Linked DNA regions of Homo sapiens: all the other regions are linked to region 1. Evidence: promoter capture Hi-C in human tissues and cell types (Jung and others, 2019). All regions are on one chromosome and are shown on one strand. The core of a region is centred on a gene start or on the middle of the fragment in contact, and the rest is flanking DNA. Distances in the headings are between cores, read along the strand shown.

Region 1 (4,495 bases), core at 562-3,061:
AGGGTGGCTGGAGTTTCCTTCACATCCCCAGCCTGTGTCATGATGGATTTGCTTTCCTGGTTTTGAACATCACACACATGGAATTGTCTGTACATTCTGGGGTCTGACTTCATTGTACACTTCATCCACATTGTTGTGGGTTGTGGTTGTGTGCCCATTTCCATTGTTGTACAGAATTTCCTCTCTGTGAACATGCCATACTTTCTTTTTAAAATCTTTTTTTCCTATGGATGGACATCTGGATCATTTCCAGTTTGGGGCCATCAGGAAGAAAGCTGCTGTGGGTAGTTTTGTTCATGTCTTCTGGTACACATAAGCTCTCATTTCTCTTGGGTGAGTTGAGGAATTAGTTGGTCATCAGGTATTCATATGTTTAGGTTTTGTAAATACTACCAGTTTGCCAATGTGGTTTTATCAATTTCATGAGCCATGTATGAGGGTTCCAGCTGTGACATCCTCGACAAACTAGGTATTGTCAGTCCTTTTAATTTTAGCCATTCTTGGGTGGGTGAGGGCAGTGAAGAGCTATTCTTGACATGGAATGACAAGACCTAGTGTGCCCGAGGTGAAGGCCTGAGCGTCCAGGGGAGCATGAGCCTGTCTTCTATGCCCTGCTGTGCTATGGCAGTGTTTCAGTGTGCTCTGGAGGAAAACAGCAGAGAAGCCGAGTGCTCCAAAGTGGGCAGAAATGAGACAGGCATAATGTGCTAGGCTAATGGTGACTCTTGGAATTTTGTCATTAGCTACAAAGAGGGCAGTGACATGATTTACACACACACACGGGGTGGGGTATCTGAAATATTAGGCAGCTAGTATGGCAGGGGCACCGTCTAATCAGCATGGATGCTGGCCAGGAGAGGACATGTGTATGTGCTGGCTGGAAACAGTCCTGCTCATAGGTCACGATCTTAATGATTAAATAACAAGGCAAGAAATCCGAGAGGGCAGTGCCTGGGAGCACCCTGTTTGCTCTGTGGCCAGAACGCAGCACACTGAAGTATTGCCCATCAGGGTAAGAGGTGCTCGTGATGGTTTGGGCAAATACAAATATTAATCCAGAGTATTTGAGTCTACATGAAAATACTGAAAAGTGAGGGAAGACCCAACCGTTTCCAAGAAATACAAATTGGAACTGGCGATAACTTAAAGAACATAATCAGAGAGGCAGAGGGCATTGGGTTTTACTAAAATATGAAGACATACGTCCTGTCTCCACGTCAGCAACTGCCCAAAGTACACGCGTTCCAGCGAAAAGAGCGGGTGGGGTGGGGAGGCTCAGGGCCAGCCAGAGCTTCGGTGCTTGCACGCCCAGGCCTCCGGGTGACGACTGCTTCCAATTCCGCGCCCTTTAAACCCCATGTTGTTAAAAAAAAAAAAAAAGAAAGAAAACCTATTTCTCTAAAAGTCACGATTCGAGCCCCACCTGAGGACGCAGCGATCCAGCGCCAACTCATTATCTGAGATAAAGGAGTGATTTTACCAGAAGCGCCTATGCAAGACGCAGGGCCCCGCGCGGGCTGCTCCCACCTCTTTCTCTCCTTGCAGGCTACCGAGACCCTGGCTGGGGCGGCCGGCGGCCCCTCCGGCCCATCCGTCGGAAATGATGAGTGGCTCCAGTGGCCGGGGTCCGCAGGACCTACCCCAGCGGGCATGGCGGGAGCCCCGCAGCCCCACACAGCCGCGCTCTGAGCCGCTGACCCCGCGTCTCTCGTGAGGGACCAATCAGCTGCCAGCTAAGGTCACATACCTAGAAGGCCAATTTTGATTGGCTGGGCGCGGGCTAGTCAGCGGGACGGGCGGGCGCGCGGGCGTTGTTGGGCTCCTCTGAGCGGTTGAGGTTGGGGCTGGGGTTGAGCTCGGGTTGGGTTCCTCCTGGGGCAGGAGGGAAAGGCGGGAGCCAGGGCGTCAGGGCCTGCGGACGATGTGTGTGTGAAAGGGCGCGTCAGCCATAAGAAGCCATATGCGTGCGAGCCGGTCCCCACCGTCCCCGCGGCGTTGTCACCATCATCATGAGGCCACTGGAGCAGCCTCAGGCGCTGCTGCCGGGGGGCCGGGCGCGGGGTGCGTCGGGCTCTGCAGGTTGGCACTCACACCCAGCGCGCAGGATGGCAGGCAAGTGAGTCCTGAATCCTGCCCGCGGCTACCCGACACCTCGCCTGTGAGTTCCCGGCCCGGCATTGCTCCATGACCTATGCACAGGCAGAACTCTTGACCGCCACCCACAGGAACCTCACTTACATTGGCTTAACAAAAACGCAACTGATGGTTCCACATAACTGAAAATGTCAGAAGTAGGCCTTCAGGCATGGATGTATCCAGGTACACATTGACCATGGTCCTGGAAGGTTTCTCTCCATCTCTCAGCTTCCTTCCTTTTTGCTGGCTTCCCTTGTGGAGGCAAGATGATCACCAGGACCTCCTGAGGTTTACATGTTATCAGATTATCAACCTCAACAAAAAGGAGATTCTTTTTTTTCCCAGCTTTCCAGGCTGGGCAGTGGTGAGTTTGGCCCACCTGAACTACAAGGACTGAGATGGCTGTGGCCCCCCCCCTCCCCACCAGGAATATAGCAGTGCTGTCATTACCAGAAGGGGCCTCGGATGCTGTGGAGGGCAGTGCCCCATCCTCTGTTTTCAAGCATTATCTGGGAGAGTTGATGCGTGAACCTATTACTCTCACAAAAATAGCAATAATAATAATGGTTATTATGACAATGAAACCCAAAAACACTTATATCGCTCTTACGGTTTCCACATACAAAGCACTTTGACCCACTACTGTCAGGGAAGCAGGGCTTTGCACCCACTGGAGACGCTTCATCCAGCCAACATTCAAGCAGTTTGTTGGGGAGTGGAACAGGGAAGAGCCACACAGGCTGTGTAACCCCAAGTGCTTTGTCATCCCAGAGACAAAGCACCCGGGTTTTTATAGTGGAAGGAGGTTCATTAATGGACAGTTTGACGATGTTTTTTCTTCAGTATTTCAGTAAGTTGAGGGTGTCTGACAGATCATCCTAGGTGATGTGATTGGCAGCTACATGTCTTGGAAAGTTCTCAGCAGGTTGGAATGCTCCTGTCTTTTCTGATGCTCCAAGCACAAGTGTAGCTGGAGTCAGCTTGAAGCTGGTTGGCTTGGGAATGCAGGATTCCATGACAGCCAGCCCCCAGGAGCCCCTAGACATTCACGCATGAGCTAGCACACGCCTGCTTCTGATGTCACCCTCTCACTCTTCTTGGGCTCAGAGGATCCCCCCATCCCCACCACCCGTGGGCTTTATTATTAAGAGTCAGTTCTGAGAAGACAGGTCCAGGCCTGTGCTCTAGCATCCCTGCCCCCTAGTTTACACAAACCCTAAGCTTTTCTGTTCTTCTCTTCTAGGAATAGCACATTTCAAACCTACAAGAAAGAAGTGTGCCTCCCCCGTCATTCGGTAAGGAAAGCAAATCCTCAGCCACTGGCCCTGACCCCAACATATCCCTGTGGGGTGAGGAGAGCAGGGAATGTGGGTCCAGAAGCTGCATCCCATGAGAGAATCCTCCAAACACAAAAGTGTGGTTGCAGGAGCTATCCCTGGGCCTCCAGAACACCTCCCAGGCCCTCACAACACCTCAGAGTTCAGGAGGCCACCTAATATACCTGCTCTGGGCATCAGCTTCTCCGTGTGCCCCTGGAGGTGATGGCAGCACCTCTCCTTCCTGCCTGAGGGTGTTGCGAAGGTCACATGGGATGGATGTGGAAGCTCTTGCACACCAGAGTGTGACAGATGGCCATAAAGGCAGCACTCATGTGCGCATAAGCTCTAGAGCTGCTTGTACATGCCCATTTTCAGAGGGGACCACGAGACTTGCTCATTGTAGCACAGCAGGAAGCAGCTGAGAATCCCAGCGCACCTGATTTGCAAGCTCCGGGGGATCCCCCTCCAAATGACCTTGGAGGCCTCAGGGCGAGCCACGGTAGCCTGCCTCTTTCCAAGCTGCAGTAGGAGCTGGGGACCCTGCCCCCGGACACCATCTTCCTGAGCACGGATCTACTGTGCTTGAGAGCCTCCTGTCTCCCTGCAAATGCAGCATCAAGCTCAGTTCTGTCATTTCTGGATCTTACTCAGATGCACCCTGGCCCCTGGGCCATCTGCTGTGAATGCCAGACCAGATTCGGGGGCCGCCTGCCTGTGTCCAGGGTGGAAGCAGCACTGCCTTACTGGGTCCCTCTGTCCCTGAGACCCCGAAAGCAGGTAGGTGACTTGAACCAGGAGGTCTTCCCCTAGGGTCCAGGGTGAATGTCAGTTGACCAGTCACCCCTCAGAATTAGAAGTATTATATGAATGGATATTTTAACATTTCAGGGAGACAGTTTGATATTATTTATTTATTTATTTTCATGTCAGATGGGTAATGTGCTGTCGTTGTAGCAAGGTCTGAGGGAGGCACACCTCACACATGTGCATGAGTACCCAGTTATCATGCTTATGAACTATAAAAGGATCTGTGATTTTTA
Region 2 (4,495 bases), core at 1,107-3,606, 370 kb after region 1:
CTGTCTACCCCTTTCAGAACCACCGTGAGAACAGCTGGTACTCATGGACCAGTGGCAGCTGGATGACCCGCAGTCGCCATCCACTGAATCCTTCCAGGAACACCTGCACGTGGAAGCAGGTATTGCTCTCTCACCACTTTGCAGGTGATAAAATGCAGCCCAGAGAGATGGTGGGATGTGGGGAGCTGGGAATCCCCTTCAACTCGGCTCCAAGGCTCCTGGCACAGCTCCAGGCCAGTGTAAGAGAGAAAACTCGCGAGCGGCATGTCCCGGCTCATCCTGTGGGGTAGGAAGGAAAGGCTCCAGACACAATTAGAAGTGCTTCAGAGCGAGTGGAAAGTTCTCAGGAAACGTATTATCATTAGAGCTGGCTGCTTGCTTCCCTGGACGGGGAGAGGGCATGCATGTGCGTCTATGGTGGATGCACTCACTGTGCGACGTCCTATATGAAATCCTTCTCCTCACAAAAAAGTGAAAAAATGGGCTTGCTTTCTTGCGTGAACTTTTCTTCCTGCTGTGTTTCTAAGAGTATCAGAGAGGCTGTTGACTCAAAGGGCAGGAGCTAGGCGTACCTGGTTAAAGAAGGTCTCTGATTGCCTTGTAGATTCAGAAACTTCCCTTAGCCCCTCATGCCTCAGTTTCCCCATCTCCAAGTGGTTTGAGAACAGAGAGGAGGGAATTGCTTAGAGGACCTCCAAGGTCCTCTCTGGGTCCTGGGATTCTTTCTTTTGGCAAAGAAAAGTCAGAGAGGCAGTGTGATGTCACTGCTGAACGCGGGGCCTCCGCAGCAGCCTGAGGGCTCTCCATGCCAGCTTTGCTCCCTCTGCACTGTCCTGACCTTTGGAAAGTGTCTCCCCCATGGCTGTCAGTTTCCCCATCTGTAAAATGGAGATGAAAATGGAAATAACTGTCTTTGGGTTCCATCCTTTGAGGTAAACCTTTTGGGAGATTGAGTCAGCACACACGCAATGTGCGTGAAACTACCCAGCACTGAGAGAGCTTGTCCATCTCATGTGTTTCTGGAGAAGGTGGCGTCTTCCCTCCACACCTCTTCCTCCAGGTGATAGCACTGAATGGTCAGTCCTAGGGGGCTCAAAGAGAGGATTCCATTGGGAACTGATGGAAATTTCCTAGTCCAGCCTCCTTCTTTCACCTGCATATGCTCACCGCCCTCCAATGCTGGTCCCGGAATTTAGCTCAGAAAATAACGCATGCACACAGGTGATAGAGATGTCTGGGTACGTAGGTACACCTGGGTGCACATGCGGAAACTCCTAGAAGGACTGGCGTCATGAAGATGTGTGGCGTTGGTGGGGGCGGAGGTGCTCAGGGCAGAGCCTTTCCTGGCAGGATTTGTCCGTGGAAGCTCGGGGAGTGGGAGCAGGAGCAGGAGCAGGAGCAGGAGCAGAGTGGCTGAGTGGGCTCAATTCCTGTGAAGGGCAGGAGCTTCAGAGCTCCTGGGCTTCCCTGTATCATTCCTGGCGTGGCCACAAGGACCTTATCTAGTGGCAGGGCAGAGGCAACAGCGGCACTAATAGCAGTAGCTGTCACAGCAGCGTGTCATGGTGTTGGACACGTAGTCTAAGTTTTTAAAATACATAATATGTTTCACACAGAAGCTTATTTTCGTAACACGATATGGCATGGCAGGTACTAGTATCTTCAGGGTACAGATGAGGAAACTGAGACACACAGAGCGCAGCAACTCATCACAGTTGCAGGGTGAGAAGGTGGGTGAAGGGGCTGTGGCTTCGCAGCCATCTCTGCCATCTGAGCCCTACGCACTGACCTTTGTGCAGGTGGGGACGCCCGTGGCTTGATGTGTCTCTGGGTGTGCAAGTGTACGATGAGGGTCCTGGCTCGGGACGCTCAGTATGGGTTAGCAGCGGGCAGCAGGTTTCTCAGCCTGCCTCTGTCACTCGGGAGTTGGTTCTGTGAGCTAGTTCTCCCCCTGTGCCTCAGTTTCCCCATATGAGGATAACAAGACCCTCTCCTAGGGCAGCTGTGAGGAGATGAGAGAAACCTGTGGCCGGGTAGCTCAGTGCCTGGCTCGTTGAAGGGGTCCATAAGTGGCAGGCAGAGGACGGGTTGGGCCTGGTGGACCCCAGAGCTCCTCCCATAGCTGGGACTTGCCACTCCGTAAACTCGTCAACAGGTTGTCTTCAAAGAAAATGTTCAAGGGAAAGTGTTCACCCTTCACCATCCTCTTGAGGACAAAGACAGTGGTTCTGAGCATGGCCCTTGGAGCACCCGTTAGCCACACTGGCCAGCAGAGCAGTTCTGGGAGGCCAGAGGGTGTTGGATGGCGAGGTCTGCGGAGTGACCGAGTGACCACGCAGAGAATCCCCTGGCCCCTTCCCTCATCCTGAGGTGGCCAAGGACACCAGGAGGAGGGAACATGGGGCTGGTTTGGACCAACAGGTGGAGCGGGAGGGTGCACACACCGTCAGCAGCATCAGCATGTTGGGGGACGCGGCAGGAGAAGCCAGGAGCCTAGCTGCTCACAGCAGGATGGAGATGATGAGGCCTGGAGGGGGTCTGCAGAGCTTTCCCAGGCACGGCAGTTGAGCTGGGCTGCAGACCCCCACCTGATGGTGTGGGGGAGAGGGGGTGAGATTCCAAAAACTACTGGATGCTATGTTTATCACCTGGGTGGGGAAACAGTCTGCACACCAAACCCCTGCGACAGGCAATTTACCTGTATAACAAACCTGCTCGTGTACCCCTGAGCCTAAAATAAAAGCTAAAAAAAAATCCCCCCTTGGAGCAGAAAAGGGAGAGAGACAGGGAAGCGGCTGAAGGCAGCAGCCTGTCTGGGGAGGTGGGGGTCAGGCGAGGGAGGAGTTTGCTTCCCCAACCTGAGCAGTTTAACCTGCAGCCCTTACTCACCCGAGGGTACCTGCTGGGGCCCAATGCCTCCAGGGGTGTTTGTTCTGACTGCCCAGGCCCCAGCCAGGCTGGCCGTGAATATTTTCAGTGTCATCTGATCTTTCCATCTCCTTGGCTGTCCTGTATAGAGGACCAAAGGACTTTATTTCAGGACATTCCCATCATTCCTGCAGGGTGACACATACACGATAACCATATCTGTATGCACGGTGGTGGGGTAAGCAGAGGATTTGGGGGCGTCCCTGTTTCCTTTCTGTAAAATAATTACAGGAAAATAGGATGCTAATTCTATTTTCATTTACATGAAATAAATAATAAATGACTTTATATTTGAATAGGCAGTGCCCAAATGAATCATTTCAAAAATGTTAATGAGAAGCTTTAGCGTACTTCTGTGAATGTAACTTTCTTTTTCATAACAGTCTTATTGAGGTGTAATTAATCTACCGTAGAATTCAGCCATGGAAAGTTTCCAGTTCAGTGATTTTAGTGTCCTCACAGATTTATGCAACTATCACAATAATCAATTTTAGAACATTTTCATCATCGCCCCCGAAAAACCATGCTTGTTAGAAGTCACTCCTTTTACCCACCACCTCCCCAAACATAGCTTTCTTAAAGGAAGTCAGGTTTTATGCTGGAAATAGCTATGTGCAATTCTTGGCTGACATGTGAACGTCCCTCTTCAAAATCTTGAAGTCACTATCGATGTGAAACTTTGGTTGCACAGGTATGTGATAAAAAGATCTAGGAAAAATTTCAGAAAGTATTTAAAAATTTGGAAGAGTTTAAGTGACTATGGAAAGAAAGAATCCCATAGGTCGTTCTTTTCTTGGCTGAATACAATGCTGACGTTTACTGTGATAATGAGGGTATGCCCTAAACTCGGCTGGACTTGTTTGATTGGGTATTTCACAGTGCTGGTGCTGCTGGAAGCTGCGGAACACACACGCATGGTTAGAACAGCTCTCGGCCCGTGGCCACCCAAAGGGTGCACCTGCAGGGAAACTGAGGCCTTCCTCTGGACTCCGTGCTTCCTCAAGGTCTCTCCTGAAAGGTCTGCATCCTGCCATGTGCTGACGGGGCTGGCGCCGTCCGTCCTTGCCCTGAGCCCTGCCGTGTTGGCGTGGTTGAGGGGTCTGCTGCCACGCTGCCTCTCCCAAGGAGGCTTGGGCAACCCAGTGAGGAGGAAACCTTGAATAAACTTCAGGAAGAGCAAATCCATTCTCCCACTTTCCCAGAACCCAAAGGGCTTCCACACTTTAGGGATGTGTTGTTTTTGAACCTGAGCCCATCATGGCCCTGGACATTGATCAAAGAGAGTGGCTTGTTTTTCCTAAAAGTGTGCGGATGGGTCCGATCAGCAGAATTTCAGGTGCAGTGACTCAGCTTTTCCTCTGCGGCTACCACCTACCCGACATGGCCCCCATGGGGTGGCATCCAGACCCTTTCCTCGGGCTTGCTTTTCTGGAAGCCCCCACACCGCGGTTAGGGTCTGGGATTTGGAATCAGACAGATAAATGGGTTTCAAGGTCTCTCTTTCCAGCTGCTCAGAATGACCACCGGCAAACTCCTTCACTTCCCTGAATCTCAGTTTCTCCTATTT
Region 3 (4,495 bases), core at 1,388-3,887, 260 kb after region 1:
GCATATTTAGACTTCATATGTCAGAGTAAACTGATTTGGGGCAAGATTTAAAAACTGAACTCAACATGCCTGTTTGACCAATTTCAGCCTAAAATATTTTTATGTTTTAATTTGACAACTAAGCTGACAAGACTTCAGCTGATGCAGAGATTATTGCTCCGTCTGACTTGTGTGTGTGTGTGTGTGTGTGTAAGGGTAGAAAGTGGATCAGGCACGGTCTTTGCATGTGGGTTTACAGAAACACCTCAGAGGTTTGCATTGCCAGCAAGTGCGTCCATCTGCACCTATCACTGACTTGGAGTAATGGTGAACTCTTTCAGATTCTGGGTCCTGTGTTTGTAAACTTCCCACTTTTCGTTTTTTGAGAACGTTATTTTGATCTCTGCAAACGAAGGTGGGGAGATGTAGTTACTTCCCTCTTAACAGCTGAATGCAATCAGAGTGCTTTTGGGTGTTGTTTTAGTTAAGAGGCAAAAGAGAAGAGAAAAACACACCCAAACAAACCAGCAGACACACTTGGCATCCAGTGTTTAACGCTCACCCTTTAGTCCCGTCAGTGGGGGAGTGAATCCTGCAGGATACACCACGTTTCACGTCCTCCCCATTCTCCCTGCACCCCGTGAAATTCTCTTGGAAGGAGATGGAAAACTGTGGGGGTTTCATTTAAGGGTCAGCTCACATGTTTAAGCTGCATGTCAGGAAGAAGAAGGCTGAGATCCTTTGAGCAAACAAGTGCCAGAAACTGAAACCCCTGCCTGTCTCTTGTGCAACGCCTCCCCAGCGGTTTGGAGACTTGAGCATTTGAATGGGAGGCGTCCCAAACATTTCAGTCCAGATCTCCTCCAGGAGAGGGTGCTGGGGACCCAGGTCTCTCTCTAGGGCTTTGAAAGAGGCTTGCTCGGTGGAGACAGAAAACATGGGAGCAGTCCAGGGGAGCAGTTGGGCTTTCACAGAGCAAAAGCTGCCATGGCCATCCGGTTCCAGGCACTTGCCATGCAGACATGGGCATGAGGCCTAGCCAGGCCAGGAGCTTGGACAGGGCCACACTGCTACTCAGTGACAGAGGCTCTCCTGACCACTCCAGAGCGCCATACTTTTCCTTGGAACGCTAATCTTGGTCATTCAGTCCTTTAACAAATGCCTTAGTTTTTAATTTGTTAGGTGACCATCTCCCATGACTAGAATCTTTGTTGTGATTGCTATATTCCCAGTGCCTTGAGTGATCCATGAGCTGCACTTATAAGAAAGCTCGGTAATTATCCAGAGTTTACAAGGGAGCGGGTGCGGCATGGGATAACTCAATGCTACCTCCCAACAAGTCAATGAGGTAGGAAATGTCATTACTCCCATTTGACAATCAAGGAAACTGAGTCCCTGAGAGGTTGAGTGAAATTTGCAAGGCCACACAGCTAGTGTGGAGAGTTGTGGGGCAACAGGGATTTGAATCCAGGCTGTCAGATCGAGGACCACACATTCTTAACTGGGCCTCATAGTGCTTTGGTAAATAAATATTGGTTGAGTGAATAAATAAGAAGATGAAATTGAAAAACAGTGGGGTGCGATGTCTGCAGCGAGAGTTTCAGAGGAGGGCAGATTTGGGTTCACACAGGCCTTTACTCTCGTTTACTGATGACCGGTAAATTCCTTAAATTTTCTGAGCCTCGACAGTTTCCTCCTACATGAAATGGAACTAACCATCTTTCTTTCTGGGTTGGGAAGACTTGAGCTTGTGAATGAAGGACTTGGCCCATAGCAAGTGCTGAATAAAGGGCTGCATTATGACTATCTCTGGGCCAGCCCCCAAAGCCCAGACGTAAGCGGGCAGAGGAGCTGCTGCCCGTAACACATCTCTGACTCCAACCAACTGGGTGACCCTGGTAAGTTTCTCAGCTTGCTGTGTCTTGCTTTTCTCTTCTGTAGAGGATGGCTCACTCTTAGTTCCTGCCTGGAAGGCTTGCATGAGGAAAGGGGGCCAGGCCCAAAGTCAGTACTGAATGATCGTCCACTTGGAGGTTCACATTAGGCACTTGTATCCTTGCGGCACTCACATGTTGGGATGCGTGGCCCACTGGTGGCTGGCGGGAATGCCCGCGCTCGGTCATGCTTCGGTGCTTTTGCACACGCTGGCCCTTCGCCCTGGAGTGTTTTTCCAACCAGTGAATCTCCTTTCACCACTTAAGTGCACTGCGTCGCTGAAGGGTAATTATCTGAGTGTTCCAACTCTCCCTCTTGCCCTTTCTGGGCTGTTCTATCCGAGAGCATATTTGTCACTTAGCGCTGGGTCACCTGGGTTACCCATCTCTCTGACTGTGGAGTGTGAGGGTTAACTCACGTCATCCCAGACCAACTTGGTAAAACGCCCCTGGCCACATTTCCCTACGGATACAAGATGTAAGGGTGTGACATTGTGGTAGAAGAAGGCATGAGTGTGATAGAAGAAGGCATGAGTGTGGCAAAAGGAAGCTTTGTTTCTAAGATCTCCAAACCCAGGCCCACGAGCGGCATCCATGCATTCACTCTTGCAGCTGGTTGCCGTTCAATCAGCAAGGAGTATTTATTGAGCACCTGCTATGTGCCCGGCACTTGAGTGGCTCTAGGTTTAAGGCTATGAACAAGAGACCAGGGCGACCCTTACCCCTCCACAGCTTATCAGAAGGACGACACCGCACGGGCGATAGCAGGCCTGGGTGTGGCAGGCTTGGTGGGGATGGTGGGTGTCTCAAGGAGGAAGTTTCAGGGAAGGCTTTGGAGACGGGGCCTCTGAGCTGAGGTGCAAAGGATTAGCCTGGTGTAGGGACGGGGCAGAGGCTTTGCAGGCACGGGGAGTGGAGGGTGCAAGACCGCGGCGAGGGGGCCGGCGAGGGGGGCGTGGGAGTCGGGGCAGGACCCTGCTGGACACCTGGTCTGTCCTCAGTGCCGCTTTCCCCAGGGCCACACAGGCTGGCTCTGGTTATACCCATTTTACAGACGGAGACACTGAGATCAGGGAGCACCGGTGGCCCTGGGAAATGGCCGGGCCTGCTCGTTAATCCCCAGGTGAGCGGGATTCGCTGGCCTGGGGGGCTCCTCTCCCAAGAGACCATCTCCAGGGACGTCATAGTTCATGTCCTGAGCAAGCCGGCAGGCTGGTTTTACCAAGAAAGTAAATAGGTAAATAAAACAAGTAATACAATAAAACAAAGAAACCGATCAACGACATCTTGACCTTAGTATGCCCGGGTGGTCTGCTTTTCGGTGTCCCCAAGGAGAGAGGAAATGTTGTAATTGGATGGCATTGCTGTCAATCATCTCAGATTGGCGGAGGCTGCGGAACCCCTGGGCCTGGGAGGTTGTTGCCATGGAGACGGCCTGCGGCCATGCGGGGCGGGAAGCCCCCTCCTCCTCTCCTGGCCGCCATGCCTGTGGCCTCAGGAGACAAGGTGAATGCCGCACCTGTGGACTCTCAGCCCGTCTAGGAGGAGGATAAAGCACAAATCCGAAATGCAGTGTCCCTGGAAGGGACGCCCTCTCTGGGCCCGCTGGCTCCCGTCTCATTGGGCTGAATGGGGTCATGTGACCACTCTCCGCTGCAAAGGAGTCTGGGAAATTGCATTTTGTTGTTGTTGGAACTCATTTTGAAGCCAAATGAAACGAGAATCGTGTCAACGAGGAAGGTTTAGGGAGGGGGTGGATGTGTAGGCAACCAGCAGAGGGCCCCGAAATCCGTGAAGATCAGGTCTGACGGTGGCTCCATGCTCCCTCCATTAAAGGGCTTCACAAAAACCCTTCCGAAAAGGTATTTCTTGTTTAATATTCGGAATATTTCACTCACTGCCTCATTAGAAAGACAATAAATTAATGTGTTCACGACTTAGAAAAATCAGGAGGAATTAGAGGAATCGGGATTTTTGGGCCAAGAGTCTCCTTGAAATAGGCGCGGGTCGTTGATGATTATCTTTCCACACGGAAGGAAATCCAGGCTCAGGAAGGTCTGGTGATTTTCCCAGAGTCACACAGGCAGAGGGACTCAGACCACAGAACCCCTGCCTGGCTCCAGAATCCCAGCCGCGATGGGCGATGCGGGGGAGTCATCGCAGGTGGGGGCCTGGGAGGCCTGGGAGGCCTGATCTCATCCTCCAGTGTGGCCCTGCCATGTTGCGCCCTGGGGTACCCAGGGCTTCCTCCCCCTCCTCCCGCCCTACCCGGCCCACACCTCTCAGGCTCCCGGTTGGTCAGGGATTTTTTGCAAGTCAGTTATCTGAGCTCAGACTGCTGGCCGTGGAGGGAACCCTTCTCACTGCCTCTGGCTGAAAGCGTTTGCCTCACCTCTCTAAGCCCCGAGGGGACAGAGGAGGCTCTATTGCAGCGGGCGGGCCTGACAGGTCACAAGGAGAGCCCAGATGTGCCGGCAGCCGCCTGTGTTTACACCCATCCCCAAGCATCGCAGCATCGGGGGCAAGACGCTAAGTTTCTCTCAGGTCGTGGCTTCCTCATCATGAGAGTGGGCAGCACACGG

What was found. Contacts are between HindIII fragments. The study calls those that stand out against the background at their distance.
Region 2: a fragment that was not itself captured here is called in contact with the fragment with the promoter of C16orf95 in region 1 in 2 of the 25 tissues and cell types used here (lymphoblastoid cells and thymus).
Region 3: a fragment that was not itself captured here is called in contact with the fragment with the promoter of C16orf95 in region 1 in 2 of the 25 tissues and cell types used here (bladder and thymus).

What each region holds. Positions count from the first base shown.
Region 1 is chr16:87,314,708-87,319,202 of GRCh38, reverse strand. C16orf95 (chromosome 16 open reading frame 95) reads left to right here and starts at 1,811. Exons shown (of 7, transcript NM_001195124.3): 1 at 1,811-2,112; 2 at 3,380-3,431; 3 at 4,107-4,232. The coding sequence starts at 1,961. C16orf95-DT (C16orf95 divergent transcript) reads right to left here and starts at 1,694. Exons shown (of 2, transcript NR_135180.1): 1 at 1,481-1,694; 2 at 1,160-1,346. LOC124903787 (small nucleolar RNA U13) reads right to left here and starts at 4,483; the gene lies at 4,380-4,483. RefSeq lists enhancers at 1,784-2,233, 3,490-3,990. The HindIII fragment of the contact is 14,678 bases long and covers 1-4,495 here.
Region 2 is chr16:86,945,088-86,949,582 of GRCh38, reverse strand. No RefSeq gene overlaps it. Among named protein-coding and RNA genes, the nearest start is that of LINC02181, 110 kb to the left of the region's middle. The HindIII fragment of the contact is 5,951 bases long and covers 1-4,495 here.
Region 3 is chr16:87,056,546-87,061,040 of GRCh38, reverse strand. It overlaps LINC02181 (long intergenic non-protein coding RNA 2181), which reads right to left and starts at 3,257. Exons shown (of 3, transcript NR_126008.1): 1 at 542-3,257. The HindIII fragment of the contact is 4,704 bases long and covers 286-4,495 here.